Linked DNA regions of Homo sapiens: all the other regions are linked to region 1. The links are contacts of gene promoters, found by promoter capture Hi-C in blood cells and fetal thymus (Javierre and others, 2016). All regions are on one chromosome and are shown on one strand. The core of a region is centred on a gene start or on the middle of the fragment in contact, and the rest is flanking DNA. Distances in the headings are between cores, read along the strand shown. Region 1 holds the start of HP (haptoglobin). Region 2 overlaps LINC01572 (long intergenic non-protein coding RNA 1572). Region 3 overlaps AP1G1 (adaptor related protein complex 1 subunit gamma 1).

Region 1 (3,404 bases), core at 587-3,086:
GGTCGAGATAAGAAGGGGGAATTGGGTGTTCTCAGAGAGAGTGCAGACCCGAGAGGGTCAGAGTGGGATGCACACTCCTACCCAACCAAAGACTGACCTGCGATATCCGTGACATCATTGCCTGAGTCCACTGCAAAAAGCTGTCCCCAGAGCAGGAGGGCAATGACAGCTCCCAGGGCACTGCAGAGAGAAGACAAGGAGGAGTGGAAAGCTAGTCTCCCTGCTTCACAGCACATGCATGCATCCACACACACATGCATGTACACACACACACACACACATGCATACACACACACTCCTCCCACTTAGCAGCCAGAAAAGAAAGTCGATATATGGAAGTGCTAGGACCAAGAAATTGCCCCCACACCTGCCCATACACACTTTAGCAGCTTCTGAGCATACCAAGCTTCCAGCAAGCCCTGTCCTGCTGGGAATTCTGCAGAAGCTTCAGAGAGGGATAGAAAGGCACATAGGTGGAGGGGTGGGCTCAGTTTCTGGCTGCATTCAGGAAAGTACATTGGCAATAATACAGGAGCCCTCCAGGAAAGAGAAACCTCCCTCAGACACCGCAAAGATAGTGGTAATAAAATGTAGATAACTCAGAGATGGGAACTTTGGGCTTACTGTGCTATTCCTCTACTTCTTGATATTTTCCGTAATAAAAGGTTCCTTAAATATATAATTTTAAACACGTGGGTATTTCTAGTATTTTATAATAATTCACCTTTAGGAAATGGTATCTGAAACCCCAAAATGCCAGAAGGTTACCTGGAAGAGAACTGGTGTCCAAAAGCAGGACGGTGGCCATGGGCATTGACCCACAGGTGCCGTCTGCCAGTTCACCATCTCACTAACAAATGCCAACCATTCGGGCACTACTTGCTTCTATTAAAATAGTTTCTAGGCCAGACACGGTGGCTCATGCCTGTAATCCCAGCACTTTGGGAGGCCAAGGCAGGCAGATCACGAGGTCAAGAGATCGAGGTCATCCTGGCCAACATGGTGAAAGCCCGTCTCTACTAAAAATACAAAAATTAGGTGGGCATAGTGGCGCACGCCTGTAGTCCCAGCTACCTGGGAGGCTGAGGCAGGAGAATCACTTGAACCTGGGAGGTGGAGGTTGCAGTGAGCCGAGATCATGCCACTGCACTGCAGCCTGGTGACAAAGCGAGACTCCATCTCAAAAAAAAAAAAAGTTTCTAGTCTTATTATTTCAACATTTCAAAAAGTGTTTATTTTTATAAGATCTAAGTGCCTTAATTAGATGTATCCCAGGTATTAGTGTGTATCCCAGGTACTAGTCAATTAATTGTGTCATTCAAATGTGTTACTATTAGTCTTCCTTATTGTACATTTTTAAAGAGGAAAATATCTGCTAATAAATATACTCAGGATGCCAGGAAGCCTACCACGGGAGCTGATGACATACCCTATAAAGTCAAAAATGTAACCTGAAGGAAAAAGACACTCCTGAGAGTAAATCTTATCTCCTGGGAAAGACAGCAGCACTGTCTTCTATGGATGCAGAAAAGGAGAAGATTTAACACACTAAGCCCTTTGGTTCACTATAATTTAGCCCATTTGCCCGTTTCTTTGTTCTATTTCTGCATCTCTACCGATGTATGCAAAAAAGACTGAAATAAAGAACCAGAGGAAAGGCAGGAGGGAAAGCTGTGGACCCACCTCATCTTGGTTGGTCTTGCCTCTGGAAGAGCAGTGCTGTGGGGCATCTGCTGGTCTTTTTATGCTGCCACTAGCTCACTTCTCCCCCTTCTCCATTTCGTAATTCCTGTGTCTACAAACTTTGGCCCTGGTAAGGTCACTATCTTTTCCAGTAACAAAACCACAAACAATACCCCTGTTAAGAGTTGAGCTCTTGCTTCACACTTGATTTTCTTGTGATGTTCTATTACAAATCCCAAGAAACCTGGCAACTCTATGACCCACAAACCTGCCAAAGTATTTCCTGAAATCAGCAACTGGGCAGGACAGGGCGGCGGCAGGAACCATCAATCTGTCTCTTTATCTTGGAGGATTTTCACACTGCAGAAAGGCTCATTTTGAGTTTTTTCAAACCCATTGTAGACATTTCTGCAGCCTAGCTTAGGTGGGGCTCTAAAGAAAGTACTTCCTTTTCACAGTAATTTTCTCCACCTTGTGTGTGGCCATCTCCCTATTGCTTAAAAGCTCTCCAGCCTGAAATCAGTAAATGTGTTTATTGTGTCTTCTCTGATTGCTCTTTGCAAGAAATCACACAACTAGTTAAAGCTATAGTGTAGACTGACACAGACTATACTCAATGGCAGTGGTTCTCATGGTTTTATAGTCTGGTGATTAGCCTAAATAGGCAGATGAGAAAAATCAATATGTCTCAGTCAAATGTCTGCACCTGTGTGTATCCCAGGTACTAGTCAACTGAAACTTAGTAGCAACTCAATACAAGGTTGATTTATTCATTAAAAAGGGTTAGTTGTTCTTAAATTAGAGTGTACAAAAGAATTACTTTTGGATAATCATGGTGACACTGATATAATAGCAAAGTAACTAGAAACAAGACAAATGCCCATCAACAGGAGGAAGGGTCAATACTGCATTGTATGTGGATATAATGGAATATTATACAGCATAAAATGAATAAACTCTGCAAGAACATGGATCATCTTATAAACATAATTTTTGAAAGAAAACCGCAAGTTTCAGAAGATTACCTTCAGTATGATGGCAGTCTTCTAGAGATCAAAACCAAGTAAAACTTGGCAATGGATTCTTAGATAATGACACCAAAATCACCAGCAATCAAAGAAAAATTAGATAAATTGGGCTTCATCGGAATGAACATTTGTGTATCAAAAGACAGTATTAATAAAATGAAGACAGGCCAGGCGTGGTGGCTCACGCCTGTAATCCCAGCACTTCGGGAGGCTGAGGTGGGCGGATCATGAGGTCAGGAGTTTGAGACCAGCCTGACCAATGTGGTGAAATTCCATCTCTACTAAAAATACAAAAATTAGCCAGGCATGGTGGCGCATGCTTTAATCCCAGCTACTCGGAGGCTGAGGCAGGAGAATTGCTTGAACCTGGGAGGCAGAGGTTGCAGTGAGCCTAGATCGCACCACTGCACTCCAGCCTGGGTGACAGAACAAGACTCTGTCTCAAAAAAAAAAGTGAAGACAGTCTACAGAATGGGAGAAAATATTTGCAAATTCTATATCTGATAAAGGGTTGTTATCCAGAGCATATCCTAACTACAACAACAAAAAGACAAACAATTAAAGCATGGGCAAAGGATTTAAATAGACATTTCTCCAAAAAATATACATAAAGTGCCAAAAAGCACATAAAAGATACTCAAGGCTGGGGAGTGACTCACACCTGTAATCCCAGCACCTTGGGAGGCCGAGGTG
Region 2 (3,404 bases), core at 590-3,089, 410 kb before region 1:
TTTATGGAGTTACCAGTCTCACAGTTCGAATTTCTTGGTGTGTATTAGACAATGAAAACACTGATTTCCTTCATTCCTTTAAATTTCTTTGTGCTTGTGTCAAAACTGTTTAGAGGAATATATTGATGTTATGTAACGCTATCTTTTGAAATATCTCATTTTTTCCCCTGGAATTTAAAGATATACTCACTTTATGGTCAAGTAATTTATTTTTCTTATGTTCTCCCTTTTGGATTTTATTAAGCATGAACAAAATCTTGACTGTCACCAGAAATAAAAATTTCAGCACAAATACACTTCTGAGAAATTAGGTAAGTTTCCAGAGGTTGAGAGAAGCAAATTATTGTCACTGCTATTTTTTTCTGATAGAACAAATTCCTGTTTTTCTAAGTACTAAAATTCTTAGTACATTCTAACGTTAGCAGTGTACTAACATTTTATGCAAACTGTTTTCTTTAAAAACTAGCCTTTGAACAAAAGGCACATTATTTTTTGAAGTGGATATACCTTATTTTATAAAAGTTTTTTAAAGAAAACCTATAACTCTTTAATATAGGGGTATAGTTTTACTTAGCTGGCATTAAAAGCCAGAAAATTGTTCTAAAGCATCATTTATCTTTTATCTTTCTTGGCTGCAATGCCAAAGAAAACCTAAGGTTCAGTGTAAGCAGAACACTTCATGAAAAAAGAAAAAAAAAAGGTTATTTCATGTGCATGCAACACAAGAGGGCACTCTTTAGCAGGTTGCAAGATAGGGACTTTCTTACTGGTATCAGAGCTTGGCTTAGTGATGGAGGTAAGGGTTTGAGGAGCTCAGAGGTTCGGGCAGGTACGGGGTGAAAAAATGGCATTTAACCTTTTATAGTATCTACTCTTCCCAAAAAAACTGGAACATCACAATCATGGCCAATAATACTATGTCTCTTAAAACATATTCTTAAAATTGTTCGTGAAACATGTATTTCTTAGACATTAATAATCTTAGTTACTTCTACATAAGTGTTTCTTCTTGCTATATGAATTGAATAACACTTATTACTTTAACTTGTTTTTAAAATTAAGTACTGTAACGTTGTTCACCCTATGTTTTGGTTTATATCAGTATTTTCTACAGCAGATAGAAAAAGTAACAAGTTCTGATACTTTGTTTCTGAAAAAAGAAGTCTATTTTAATTTTTTTTAATTTGAAAAAGCTGAAATTAAAACCAAAGTAACATTTTTTGTCCTCTAATAAACCTTTTTTTCTTTCTTTTGCTCCACTATAAATGAGACCTCCTTTTTCTTTTGGGTTTGCTTTAAAGAAGCTTCTTTGCATATACTAATCTCATCCTCATGCTTATTATTTTATCCTGGTTCACAAAAGGGATATGATCTCTAAATCATGCATTTTCTCTTGCAATCTTTTGTTTTTTCCTTCTTTCTTTTCTTTTTCTTACATTCATTTTCCCTTTCTTAGTCCACCATGCTATAAGGCTGCAAAAATGAGAGTACTCTAAGGCTTATTAACCAGTTTTTCTGACAAGAAAAATGCTAAATTTACATAAGCAATTAGCATGTACATGCCTGCCTATAGTAGAGATACAATCAACAGATCACCAATATTGAATGATAATATTTAGAAGGCAGCAAAGCATAGCAGTTAGAGATTAGGGTTTTGAGTTAGATCAGCTTGAGTTCCTACTCGCTATGCGACAGTGAGCAATTTTTTATTTGACATCTATAAGCCTTAATTTCCCTACCTGTATAAATGGGAATAATAATGATAATTATACTTTAACTCAGAGTTGAGGACTGAAGGAGATTTTATATGTGTGCGTGTATGTGTGTGTCTGTGTGTTTATATATAAATATATATATAATTGCACACAGCAAATAGTACCAACAGGTATGCTATTAGTTGTTATTCAGATTTAGCTGAGATCTCTATTAATATTGCTCCTCTACGTATTTCATTTTTTTACAGTACTTTTTTGATATAAAGTTTAAAAATTATGTACTTGATTTTTGTTAGCTTTTGAGCAACAACAACAAAAAGATGTGCATCTGAAATAGCACAGCCTTGACTCTGAAAGACCTTTGACAATAAAATCCAAGGCCAGGACTAGGGTGAGGCTAGGAAGGTGCTTATATAGCAAAATTTAAGGAGGTACCCACTTTCTGGTGTCAACCTAGCACTTACATGACCCTGGGATTGAGAGCCTCCTTAAATTTTACACCATAGGCGTTTCTCTTACCTCATCCCAGTCTTGGCCCTGATATAAACCTTAATTTTCACTTTGGCTTTTTCCTTAAGTTCATGAAATAAATGCTTATGGAGAAAGATAATCTGCATATGGCTTAATCAGTCTGCAGGGGCTGGGCACAGAAAAGCTTAAAGAACCTTATCCAAGGCCTTCCAAACTATGGATTGACTTGAACACTCAAGGCATCTTTGTTGTTCAGATGGGTATATGGCTCATAATAATAAAATGCCTTAAATATCTTTAACACTAAAGATGATACAACCCTTTTTTTCAGGCATATTATGACCTAAAAATTCAACTTCAGTTGCCTTGTGGCAACTAAACTTATCTCTGGCACAGCATGTTTTAGGACATTCTAGTAAGGTCACCAATCATGTATATTGCACACAAGTCATTTCAGCTGCAAATAAAATAAAATTAGAATCACTAATGTTATATTCAGAAGCTGAAATTGCATGCAAGTGTAGACTGTAAATACCTACACTGCAATTTAGTAAAGTGACAATGCTAGTATTTGTTCTGGTCATCATTAAGAGTTACACATGTATAAAGGAAGAAAGATCGCCTTTTTGTGTGTTCATGCCAGAGTAAAATTTTATACCTACGCAGAGAACCAGCATCCCTGCTCTTAAGAGACATTGTGTCCACATTCCACTCAGTTCCAAAGCACTCCTTATGCTAGTAATGCAAACACTTGCTCTCTTCATTACTGTATAGTTTGGTTTGTTTGACCCCTTCAAATCTCATGTTGAAATTTGATTTCTAATGTTGGAGACGAGGCTTAAAGGGAGGTGTTTGGGTCATGGGGGCATATCCTTCATGAATAGAATAATCCTCTCCCTGGGGGTGAGGGGGTAAGTGAGTTCTCATTCTATTAGTTCTCATGAGAGCTGGTTGTTAAAAATAGCCTGGTGCAAACCCCAACTCCGCTTGCTTTCTCTGCTTCCTCTCTCGTCATGTGATCTCTGTGCATGCCAGCTCCTCTTTAACTTCTGACATGAGGGGAAGCAGCCTGAAGCCCTTACCAGAAGTAGATGCTGGTGCCAAGCCTCTTGTACAGCCTGCAGAACTGTGTGCCAAATAAACCTCTTTTCCTTGTAAATTACCCAGCCTTAGGTATTTCTTTATAGCAAATCTAAGCAGACTAAGACAGTAACTTTC
Region 3 (3,404 bases), core at 593-3,092, 270 kb after region 1:
TCTCTAAGGAACAGACTGCCCAACTGAAAGAAAGAATGTGCAACACTATCAGGAAAGATAGTCATCAGCTTATTTACTGTTTAGGTCAGTAATTTCAGTGGAAGGAGATCTCCTGCCCCCAAGTTAAAACAAAAAAGTACTGGGATTTAATCTTATCAGACTGACTTGGGTTTTATGGTCATCTTGGGGTTTGGAGTGGGGTCAACATCTTTAGAAATACATGATCAAGAGTGGGAGTCCATTAATTTCCCAAAGAAAAATTGATGTGTTAGTATCAGAGGAAAGGGGACTGGATCAAAAGAAAAGGAGCCAGGCAGAAGCAACTGCTGGGTCATCAATATAGTCATATATTTGGTTTGGGACAGAATTAGTGTCATAATAGCATTCTTCTCTTTCACATGAATAGTTTCTAAAAATATAATATGTTCTTTGAAATATATTTCATATTTCATTCGTAGAGTGTTAGGAGTGGAATGAAACCCTGAGGCTCTGATGTTTCAGTTATAAGCTTTACCACATCAAAAATTGATCCAGGTGGTTATCCATATACTGTGTGTCATAGTATAAAGCAAATAGATGCCTACGTGTTCTTGTTGATCGGTTGATTGATTTTAAGTATTAGGTTAGATTTACAGAAATCTGATATATTAGAAATTGGGCTATAAAAAAGTCTAGTGAGGGAGAAGACTCTTAATTCCTCAGCGATAAGCATTATTAACATTTTGGAAGCAGTACATTTACATATTCCCAAGGAAGTTCTTTAAGAGCATATTCTTTTTTTGTTGTTTTTAGAGGCAGGGTCTTGCTCTATGGCCCATGCTGTGGCTCTGTGATGGCTCACTGTCACCTCAACCTACTGGGCTCAAGTTCTCCTACCTCAGCCTCTCGAGTCACTGGGACTGCAGGTGCATGGCACCACACCCAGCTAATTTTTTTTTTTTTTTTTTTTTTTTTTGAGACAGAGTCTCGCTGTGTTGCCCAGGCTGGAGTCCAGTGGCGTGATCTCGGCTCACTTCAACCTCCACCTACTGGGTTCAAAAGATTCTTCTGCCTCAGCCTCCCGAGTAGCTGGGACTACAGGTGTGTGCCACCACACCCGGCTAATTTTTGTATTTTTAGTAGAGACGGAATGTTACCATATTGGCCAGGCTGGTCTCGAATTCCTGACCTCGTTATCTGTCTGTCTCGGCCTCCTAAAGTTCTGGGATTACAGAAGTGAGCCACTGTGCCCGGGCCCAGCTAATTTTTTGAGACGGGATCTCACTCTGTTGCCCAGGCTGGATTGTGCAGTGGACACCTCAGGCTTACTTTCTACTGGGCTCACTGCAGCCTCGACCTTCTGGGAACCACACCCGGCTAATTTTTGTATTTTTTATAGAGACAGGGCTTTGCTGTGTTGCTCAGGCTCATTTTGAACTCTTGAGCTCAAGCAATCCATGTGTCTTGGCCTCTCAAAGTACTGAGATTACAGGCGTGCACTATTGTGCCCGGTCAGCTAATTAAAAAAAAAATTTGGGCTGGGTGCGGTGGCTCACGCCTGTACACCCAGAACTTTGGGAGGCCGAGGTGGGTGGATCATGAGGTCAAGAGATAGAGGCTATCCTGGCCAACATGGTGGAACCCCCTCTCTACTAAAAATACAAAAATTAGCTGGGCATGGTGGTGCGTGCCTGTAGTCCCAGCTACTCAGGAGGCTGAAGCAGGAGAATCGTTTGAATCCGGGAGGTACAGGTTGCAGTGAGCTGAGATCGTGCCACTGTACTCCAGCCTGGCAACAGAATGAGACTCTTTCTCAAAAAAAAAAAATTTTTGTTGAGTTGGATTTCTGCCACAGTTCCCTGGTTGGTGTTGAACTCCTGGGCTCAAGTGATCTTTGGGCCTCAACCTCCCAAAGTGCTGTGATTATAGGTGTAAGCCACAGTCCCTGGACTAAGGGCAAATTCTTGAATTTGGAATCAGAGTAGATTTAAGACTTTGGGGGATATTTCATTTTGTAAAAAATCTCTCTATATTTTCTAAGATTCATTTCTTTAATATGTTTAAATAGAATGTGCTTTTAAGGTTAGGTGGCATTTGGGGGTATTTTGGGACTTAATTATTTGATAAAATATTTAATTCTTAGAAAGTAAATGCTCGAGAAAACTGTGCTAAAATTTTATCATAAAATATTTTTCTGAATGGGACTGGGAATCATAATTTTAAGTTCTTATTCTGTTTCCTCTGTTTCAATGAGTCACCATCTTGTTCATATCAGTAATTTGGTACCCCATCCGTTGGAATTACCTTTATAATATGCCTTTAAAAGGTTCATATCTAGATTTTGTCACCTGCACGTATGATCACAGTGCCATTTTCATTTAGTGTATAATAATAGCCACTTTTTTTTTTCTTTGAGATGGAGTCTCGCCCTGTTGCCCAGGCTGGAGTGCAATGGTGTGATCTCAGCTCACTGCAAACTCTGCCTCCTGGGTTCACGCCATTCTCCTTCCTCAGCCTCCCTAGTAGCTGGGACTACAGGCGCCTGCCACCATGCCTGGCTAATTTTTTTGTGTTTTTAGTAGAGACGGGATTTCACTGTGTTAGCCAGGGTGGTCTCGATCTGACCTCGTGATCTGCCCGCCTCGGCCTCCCAAAGTGCTGGGATTACAGGCGTGAGCCACCATTCCCAGCCCACTTTTTTTTTTTTTTTTTTTTTTTTGAGGCAGGGTTTCGCTCTTGTCACTCAGGCTGGAGTACAATGGCACAATCTTGGCTCATTGCAGCCTTCACTACCCAGGTTCAAGCGATTCTCCTGCCTCAGCCTCCTGAGTAGCTGGGCTACAGGCACCTGCCACCACACCCGGCTAATTTTTGTATTTTTGGTAGAGACAGGGTTTCACCATGTTGTCCAGACTAGTCTTGAACTCCTGACCTCAAATGATCCACCGTCTTGGCCTCCCAAAGTGCTGGAATTACAGGTGTGAGCCACCACACCCAGCCTAGTTATTGGAAGACTTTTAAATATGTTTTAAACAACTTGGGTATGTGAGTCTACTTTATAAATAGTAAATTTTATGAAATCTAAATACAGTTCAGCTATTTCTTTTTTTTTCTTTTTAGTTTAGCTATTTCTGATGAAAATGTACAAATTGAGATGTGCTGTAAGTGTAAAGTACATACTGTATATAGAAGCTTTAGTGCAAAAGCAAGTGTAAAATACCTAATTATAATTTTTGTGTTGATCATACGTTGAAATGATATTTTAGATATATTGATTAAAGAATATTATTAAAACTAATTTCACCTTTTTAAAACTTTTTACTACAGTATCTAGTATGGTGCTGATAGAAATAAAACACAAGCTACATAGAAATTTAAAAATTTCTAGTAGCTATATTTTAAAAGTCTTAAGTTTTGCAATAAAA

What was found. Contacts are between HindIII fragments. The CHiCAGO score rates a contact against its expected background, and 5 or more counts as called.
Region 2: a contact is called between a fragment that was not itself captured here and the fragment with the promoter of HP in region 1, in 4 of 17 cell types (M1 macrophages, M0 macrophages, M2 macrophages and 1 more). The highest score is 9.3, in M1 macrophages.
Region 3: a contact is called between a fragment that was not itself captured here and the fragment with the promoter of HP in region 1, in 1 of 17 cell types (neutrophils). The highest score is 5.5, in neutrophils.

What each region holds. Positions count from the first base shown.
Region 1 is chr16:72,052,937-72,056,340 of GRCh38, reverse strand. It overlaps HP (haptoglobin), which reads right to left and starts at 1,836. Exons shown (of 7, transcript NM_005143.5): 1 at 1,684-1,836; 2 at 98-180. The coding sequence starts at 1,688. The HindIII fragment of the contact is 5,876 bases long and covers 448-3,404 here.
Region 2 is chr16:72,464,677-72,468,080 of GRCh38, reverse strand. All of the region lies in intron 6 of LINC01572 (long intergenic non-protein coding RNA 1572), which reads left to right. All of the region lies in intron 1 of LOC124903718 (a long non-coding RNA gene), which reads right to left. Among named protein-coding and RNA genes, the nearest start is that of LINC01572, 200 kb to the left of the region's middle. The HindIII fragment of the contact is 1,066 bases long and covers 1,307-2,372 here.
Region 3 is chr16:71,784,870-71,788,273 of GRCh38, reverse strand. The region is part of intron 2 of AP1G1 (adaptor related protein complex 1 subunit gamma 1); the gene reads left to right. Among named protein-coding and RNA genes, the nearest start is that of AP1G1, 22 kb to the left of the region's middle. The HindIII fragment of the contact is 2,663 bases long and covers 511-3,173 here.